2 separate regions of the Homo sapiens genome follow, and region 1 is linked to region 2. The links are contacts of gene promoters, found by promoter capture Hi-C in blood cells and fetal thymus (Javierre and others, 2016). All regions are on one chromosome and are shown on one strand. Each heading gives the region's core, a stretch centred on a gene start or on the middle of the fragment in contact. The rest is flanking DNA. Distances are from core to core; before and after follow the strand shown. Region 1 overlaps ANO10 (anoctamin 10). Region 2 holds the start of GASK1A (golgi associated kinase 1A).

The links. Contacts are between HindIII fragments. The CHiCAGO score rates a contact against its expected background, and 5 or more counts as called.
Region 1: a contact is called between a fragment that was not itself captured here and the fragment with the promoter of GASK1A in region 2, in 1 of 17 cell types (non-activated CD4 T cells). The highest score is 6.6, in non-activated CD4 T cells.

The regions. Positions count from the first base shown.
Region 1 is chr3:43,519,594-43,522,960 of GRCh38, forward strand. The region is part of intron 11 of ANO10 (anoctamin 10); the gene reads right to left. Among named protein-coding and RNA genes, the nearest start is that of ANO10, 100 kb to the right of the region's middle. The HindIII fragment of the contact is 3,266 bases long and covers 40-3,305 here.
Region 2 is chr3:42,977,303-42,980,723 of GRCh38, forward strand. It overlaps GASK1A (golgi associated kinase 1A), which reads left to right and starts at 2,009. Exons shown (of 5, transcript NM_001129908.3): 1 at 2,009-2,343. The coding sequence starts at 2,341. The HindIII fragment of the contact is 11,487 bases long and covers 1-3,421 here.

The DNA of each region.
Region 1 (3,367 bases), core at 423-2,922, 540 kb after region 2:
GTTTGTCCTCCTATAAGGTAGTGTTCACTCATTTTCAAAAGCTTCATCCAACTAGCCTCTACATCAAGTATGAGAACCATGCTTATCCCTTCACTCATATGAGGGCAGACCAGAGATCAGGAGAGATCATCATGGTCTCGGGCCAGGATCATGCTGATACACAGGTAGGTTACAAGATCACGGGGCATATTTTTTGCAAGCAAGATTGCTGTGAAGTTAACTTTGTTGGCTGAACTTTACATTTTTCTTATGTCCAAGGAAAAGAAGTGTTATTTGTCTTGTTTCTTTTCAGTTCTTGTAACTGTAGGGCTTAATGAGGGAGAGCTAATACAGGACAGAATTTCAGAATGTAGAGGTCCACAGGAATAACCAATGGCAACCTCCTTGTAGCAGAGATGGCTATCTATTCACCTAAATCATCTCCTCTTTATTCTGGGCACAGAGCTGGACCACATTTCCCAGCTTCCCAGTGACCATATGGTCTCCTGATACCCACATGGCTGACTTCCACAACCAGTGAAATGTGAGTTGGAGTTATATGTGCCCCTTCCTGGCCTGGTCCATACAACTTTCCTTCTTGCCATCTTCCATATCCTCCTCCCCAGCTCTTACTTTTAGGTCATTAATCCAGTTTTAGTTGATTTTTGTATATAGTGTATGTTAGTCTATTCAGGCTGCTATAAACAAAATGCCATATACTTGATAGCTTATAAACAACAGAAATTTATTTCTCACAGTACCAGAGGCTGGGAAGTCCAAGATTAAGGTGCTGGCAAATTTGGTGTCTGATAATTAACACAACACTGGTGATTAGGTTTCAACATATGAATTTTAGGGGGATAGAAACAGACCACAGCATGGAGTCCAAACTTCATCCTTTTACATGTGGATATCCAGCTGTTTGCACCATTTGTTGAAAAGACTATTCTTCCCCCAATGAATTGTCGTGGAACTCTTGTTGAAAATCAATTGACCATAAAATGTGAAGGTTGATTTCTGGCCTCTCAATTTGAGTACACTGATCTACATGTACATTCTTTTTATTTATTTATTATTTTACTACATGGGCATTCTTATGCTACTATGATTACTGTAGTTTTGAAATTTGGAAATGTGAGTGCGTGTACTATTTTCTTTATTTCAAGATTGTTTTAGCTATTCTGGGTTCCTTGCATTTCCATATGAATTATAGGATCAACTTGTAATTTTTGAAAATAAGTCAGCTAGGATTTAAAATAGGGATTGTGTTGGATCTATAGATCAATTGGAGAAGTACTACCATGTTAATATTTAGTCTTCCATTTTTTTCTTTTTGATGCTACAATAAATGGAATTGTGTTCTTAATTTCATATTTAGTCTGCTTATTGCTAATGTATAGAAATACAATTCATTTTTGTACATTGTTCTTGTCTCTTGTAACCTGAACTCATTTATTCGTCTGAATTGTTTTTAATGGATTCCTTAGGATTTTCTATTTACAAGAGCACATCACCTGCAAAGAGAAATAGTTTTACTTCTTCCTTTCCAATCGACATGCATTTTATTTTCTTATCTACTTCCCTTGGCTAGAACTTCCTGGACAATGCTAAATAAAACTGGTAAGTGGTAAGGGGAGGTACCCTTTTTCTTGTTCCCAATCTTAGAGAAAAAGAAAACATTCAGCCTTTTACCATTAAGTATGATGTTAACTGCAGGTTTTGCACACACATCACTTATCAGGTTGAAAACAAGGCATAAATTTTAAAATGCTGCTGTCAAGCCTTTAATGGTATTTACAGGGAAGCCTTATGTTTGAGAGCTGAGTCTGGCCATAAAATGATAAATAGTAGAGAACCCCAATCTCTTACTTCTAGGAAAAATGATAATCACAGAAATGGAACTTTACTTAACTGATCAAGATGCTCTTGAGACAAATGATATAGTTGAGATGCTCCAGACATATGAAAAGATGCTCAACATCAGTAATCACTGGGGAAATGCAAATCAAAACCACAAGGAGGTACTACTTCACATCCACTAGGTTAGCTATAATTTAGAAAATGGAAAATGAAGTGTTGACGAGAATATGGAGAAACTGAAACCCTCGTACGTTGCTGATGGGAAAGCAAAATGGCACAGCTGCTACGGAAAACAGTTTGGAAGTTTCTCAAAAAATTAAACACAGAATTATCATATGACCCAGTGATTCTACTCCTGGGTATATACTCACAAGAATTGAAAGCAGGGACTCAGATATTTGTATGCCAATATTCACTGCAGTATTATTTACATTTGTACTAAAATAGCCAAAAGGTGGAAATAACCCAAGAGTCCATCAACAGAAGAATGAATTCAGTATATGCATACAATGACATATTATTTAGCCATAAAAAGGAATGAGGTTCTGATACATACTATAACATGGGTAAGACTTAAAAACATAATGCTAAGTGAAATAAGCCAGACACAAAGGGACAAATAAATGTATTATTTTCTTTACATGAAATGTCTAGAACAGGCAACATCACAGAGACAGAAAGTAAAGCAGAAGTTGCCAGGGACTAGGGGAAGGGGGAAATGGAGAGTCATTGCCTGCTGCGTACAGAATTTCTGTTTGGGGTAATGAAAAAGTTTTGGAAATTGATAGTGGTGATGACTGCACAATGCTGTGACTATAATTAATGTGACTAAATTACACACTCAATATAATTAAAATTGCAAATTATGTTATTATATTTTACCATGATAAAAAAATACATTAAAAAAAAGCTCTACAGCTATTTCTGCATCTACACTTTCACCATTCTTTATGATCATAGCAATATTCTGGTGTTCTTTTCTAGGAAAACCCTGTGACTTTCATCATGTCATTGCATATATAGCACAAGATCCTCCTAAGTCTTGTGACTATTCATTTACCTACAAACCAAGAGCTTCATACAACTTTATGCATTAGGGATCTGTCATTTCACTGCAGTTTAATATAGACAACTGTGTTCTGCTCTCTGTCTTTGAAAGTATTGATGCTGGAAATGTAACTGAATCAAGCAGGGTTTTTACTTGCAAGCCACAAATACCAATTCTGGTGTATCTGGGCAAAGAAGAGGTTGGTTAAAAGGTTATCAGGTAGTTCACGTACCCTCTAAAAGGTCTAAAGAACCAGGCTGAGCAGTCATACAGTGAGGAGCAATGTCCAAAGTCATATCTAGAGCTGGTTCAGCAATGATGCCAGGCTGCACACAGGCACAACACCATTGGCATAGCACTGCCACAGCTACTGTCAGCTGAGTGGATTCTGCATGGTACCTGCCTCTTGGGGTCCAAAAGCTTACAGTTCAAAGTTTAGGGTAAAAAATTATTACTGGCTCAATATAGATCATGTGCCCA
Region 2 (3,421 bases), core at 759-3,258:
ATATGCAAGGGACAATAAGAAGGTGAGTGTGTCCTGGAGCACAGTGAGAGAGAGTGTGCAGAGATAATGTTAGAGAACCAATGAGGGCCAAAGTGTGAAAGGACTTGTAGGCCCCTGTAAGATGTGGCATGTTACACTGCAGGAGATTTGAAGCCTCTGGTAGGTTTTGAGCAGAGAAATGACAAAAATCTGATTTATGACTCTTTTCAAGTAATTCTTCTTAAAAGTAATTTTATTCATGTTATTAGGATGGACCAGGATATGCTATAACAACAAACAATTCTTTACAGCTTAGCCATGTTCTTGTGTGACATTTTATTTGGCTGGGCTAGATCCTGCAGCAGCTTTTCCCAAGTGTGTTCCATGAGTCATTGGAGCTGCTTCTTTTGAAAAACAGTTCTGCTTCCAGTAATCCTGGAAATACTGGGCACTCTCTTCCTGTCTAAGTTAGTGATTTGAGACCATCATTAAAAATACATAAAATTGGAATAGAATAGAAAATGTCAGAGTGCATCACATGAAGTAATGTTTTATAAAACAATCTTTTAGTTACATTTATACATATATGTTTAATATATATCTTGTGTGGGGTCACAGTCAGAAAATGAGACTCAAAAGATCACAGCGTCTCCCTAAACATCTAAATAAAACCCTGAATGGTTTGTACTGTCCTCCACCCTCTTCCCTCATTTCCCAACCAGGGCTCAAACTCTCTGTCCTTTCAGTAGTCCATATGCACAGACAAGCTGCAGTTTGCAGTGCTACATCCTGCCTCCTGTTCCTGCCATATCAAGTCTTCCTCTTTGTTTCATGTTCTGGCAAATAGACTTGGATTTGCTAAACTGTTTACTGGCGATCTGGTCTCAGGAAAGTTACTTCACCTCCCTAATCCTGACTTTCCTAATTTGCAAAAGTTTTCCTTTTAGGATCGTTTGTGGTTATTAAATGAAATAATGTACAGAAAGCATCTGGAATGTTAAGGACCGAATACTTTCCCTTCATCTGTTCCTCCTGCCCATACACACATACACAATTTAAGGGGACTCTCTGGATCTTTGCTTCCCTTTAGAAGCACTGCCATCAGTGATAACCTCAGATCATTCTGGGGCAGGAGACTGCTGGGAAGATGCCTGTCTTCATCTAGCTAATGATGCTTCCTGTTAGTTTCAGTACTGGAGGCTAATTTTTCAGCCTGGCCCCCAAATTCTCTCAGAGCACCCTACTGCTGACTCTGCCTCGCCTCCATCCATTGTCTACAGGCTCTTAATAATCCTGGGGTCCAAACATTGGGCCACTGGGGGACACAAGTCATAAAGACGTCTGGGGACTGGTCGATGGTCATCCAGCTGTTAATAGTGGGGCTAGCCCTGATTTTGGGACTACAGAACCCCTAAGCCCAGGACATTCCCCAACGGGGAACGGATAGACTCTCAGGTCTTGCTCTGACTGTGCCTTTGTTGGCAGTAGGTGACTCAGGGGACACAAAGGCACTGTCTGTGCATCCAAAGCAGAGAGGTATCAGCCACTTACTTCAGTGACTTTAACAGTGATTAGTTCTCAAGGACAAAAACTCTTCATTGTTAATTAGCTTAGTGGTCAACGGATTTTCCTTCCAAATCCTCTTGGGGACTGAACCCAAACAAGGCGAAGAAGTGACAGTAAAAAAAGACTTGTCCTTCTGACAAGCGACAGTAAAGAAAAAGACTTGTCCTGCTTGGCAGGAGAGGGTGGCAGTTTGGGCAACACTCAGCCATATTGCTGAGTTGCAGCGAACTCACCAAGCACCCTCACACCTTAGAGGCGTCCCTCACCGTCCAGCCTTGGTGCATCACCCGTCAGGCGGGCAGTCAGGGCGTAGACCTTTCCTTCCTAGCACCTGGGCCCCTACTCCAGAAGACCAGAAGACTGCGGCTGGCCGAGCCCCCGGCAGGGCTTTTATTGTGAAGGGAGCTTCCCCCTCCCGCGCTTTCAGGGGAATGGGGAAGCTGGGCCGGGACGCGCGGCAGGGACTTTGCAAACTCTGCAAAAGTCCCGAGTAGACCGCAGAGGCTCGCGGCCGCGGGTAGGCTCCCTCAGATCCCCGTAGATCTCAGTAGATCCGGCGTGTATTCCCCACCCGCGGAGTATCCCGGTGTGCAGCGATCTCCCGAGAGTTGGCGCAGGGCCACTTGGCTGCAGAGAACGTGTGCACCTTCAGTCCGGGAAACCCGCCCCAGCCGAGTAGCCGCGCATCCTGGGAAGCCTGGCGAGCCACGGCGCCGGGGGCGGCCAAGGGGAGGCGGGATGAGTCTGCGAGCCGGCTGAGCGCGCCGAGGAGCCGGCCGGGGCACCGCCGGGGACATGGTAGGACTCGCGGGAAGGAACGCGCGAGCGGAGGGTGGGGCGATCACCAGGACAGGTGGCTGCAGTCAACGCGCAGCGGCCCAGGGCGCGCGCAGCCTGCGCGGCCTCCCGAGGCCGGAGTTGTTCCCCGAAAGTTGCATGGGGCGGCGGCGGCTTTCATTTCTGCACCAGAGCTGGGGGCGATCGGCTTTCCTGCCGCTCTTAGTGGGGCGGACCGTAATAAGGGGGCTTTTATTACTAATCTGCACTCCTTGACCTAACCGTAACCCACTCGCAACTCTGCAATCTTCATGCAATCCACAAGGCAGGGAGAGGGGAGCGTTCCCTGGGGAACCCACGGCAGCCTCTGATGAGATGCTTTTGAAGTCATTTTAATACTCTCCAAAGTTCATGTGAATTTTATACTATCTTCTCTAATTTAGCTATGTATTGATATTAAAAATAATGTCCTAACGTTTATTAACATTTAATAACTAAATTAACATTGAGTTAAATTGGCTCTAGTAAGGTTCCAATCCGCCTTCCTCTACCTCCCCGACAGGAGGACTGTTGGGCAGATGTGGAAGCACTGGTGGGTCTGGGATGTCACGATGAAACCAGGATCTTGTGGACGTGGCCCTTCCATTGATCAACTTCACAGACACTAACAGGCAGAAAAGAAAAACCCATCGAGAATGTGGCCCAGGCGGCTTAGCTAAAGGACACATGCAACCCCAGGAAAGGGGCGTCCCTCAGGCCCGGCCGCTGGTTAGTTGCTCTGCTTCTCCCGCAGCAGAAAACCCCTGCAACCCCAACTGGGCTCCTGCAGTTCACTGGGCTCCCCTGGCTGCTTCCGTGCCTGCTCGCCTCTTCCCTTTCCTTCCAAGCTCACAGAAGGCAGATCGGAACCCACTGGAGATGCTTTGTGGGGAGTTTTGCTGGGCCTGGGGTTTAGAAGGCTGTCTAGAGACTGCGCTGTAGGATGGAGGGTCTCTGTGAGAACAGCTCCTTTGTGTGCAGGGGGGCCTGGCAGGTGGCTGGAACAGAGGTGGAGGGCTGGTCATAAGGAGCTGGGGGCTCAGGGAAGGGTACCTTTGAG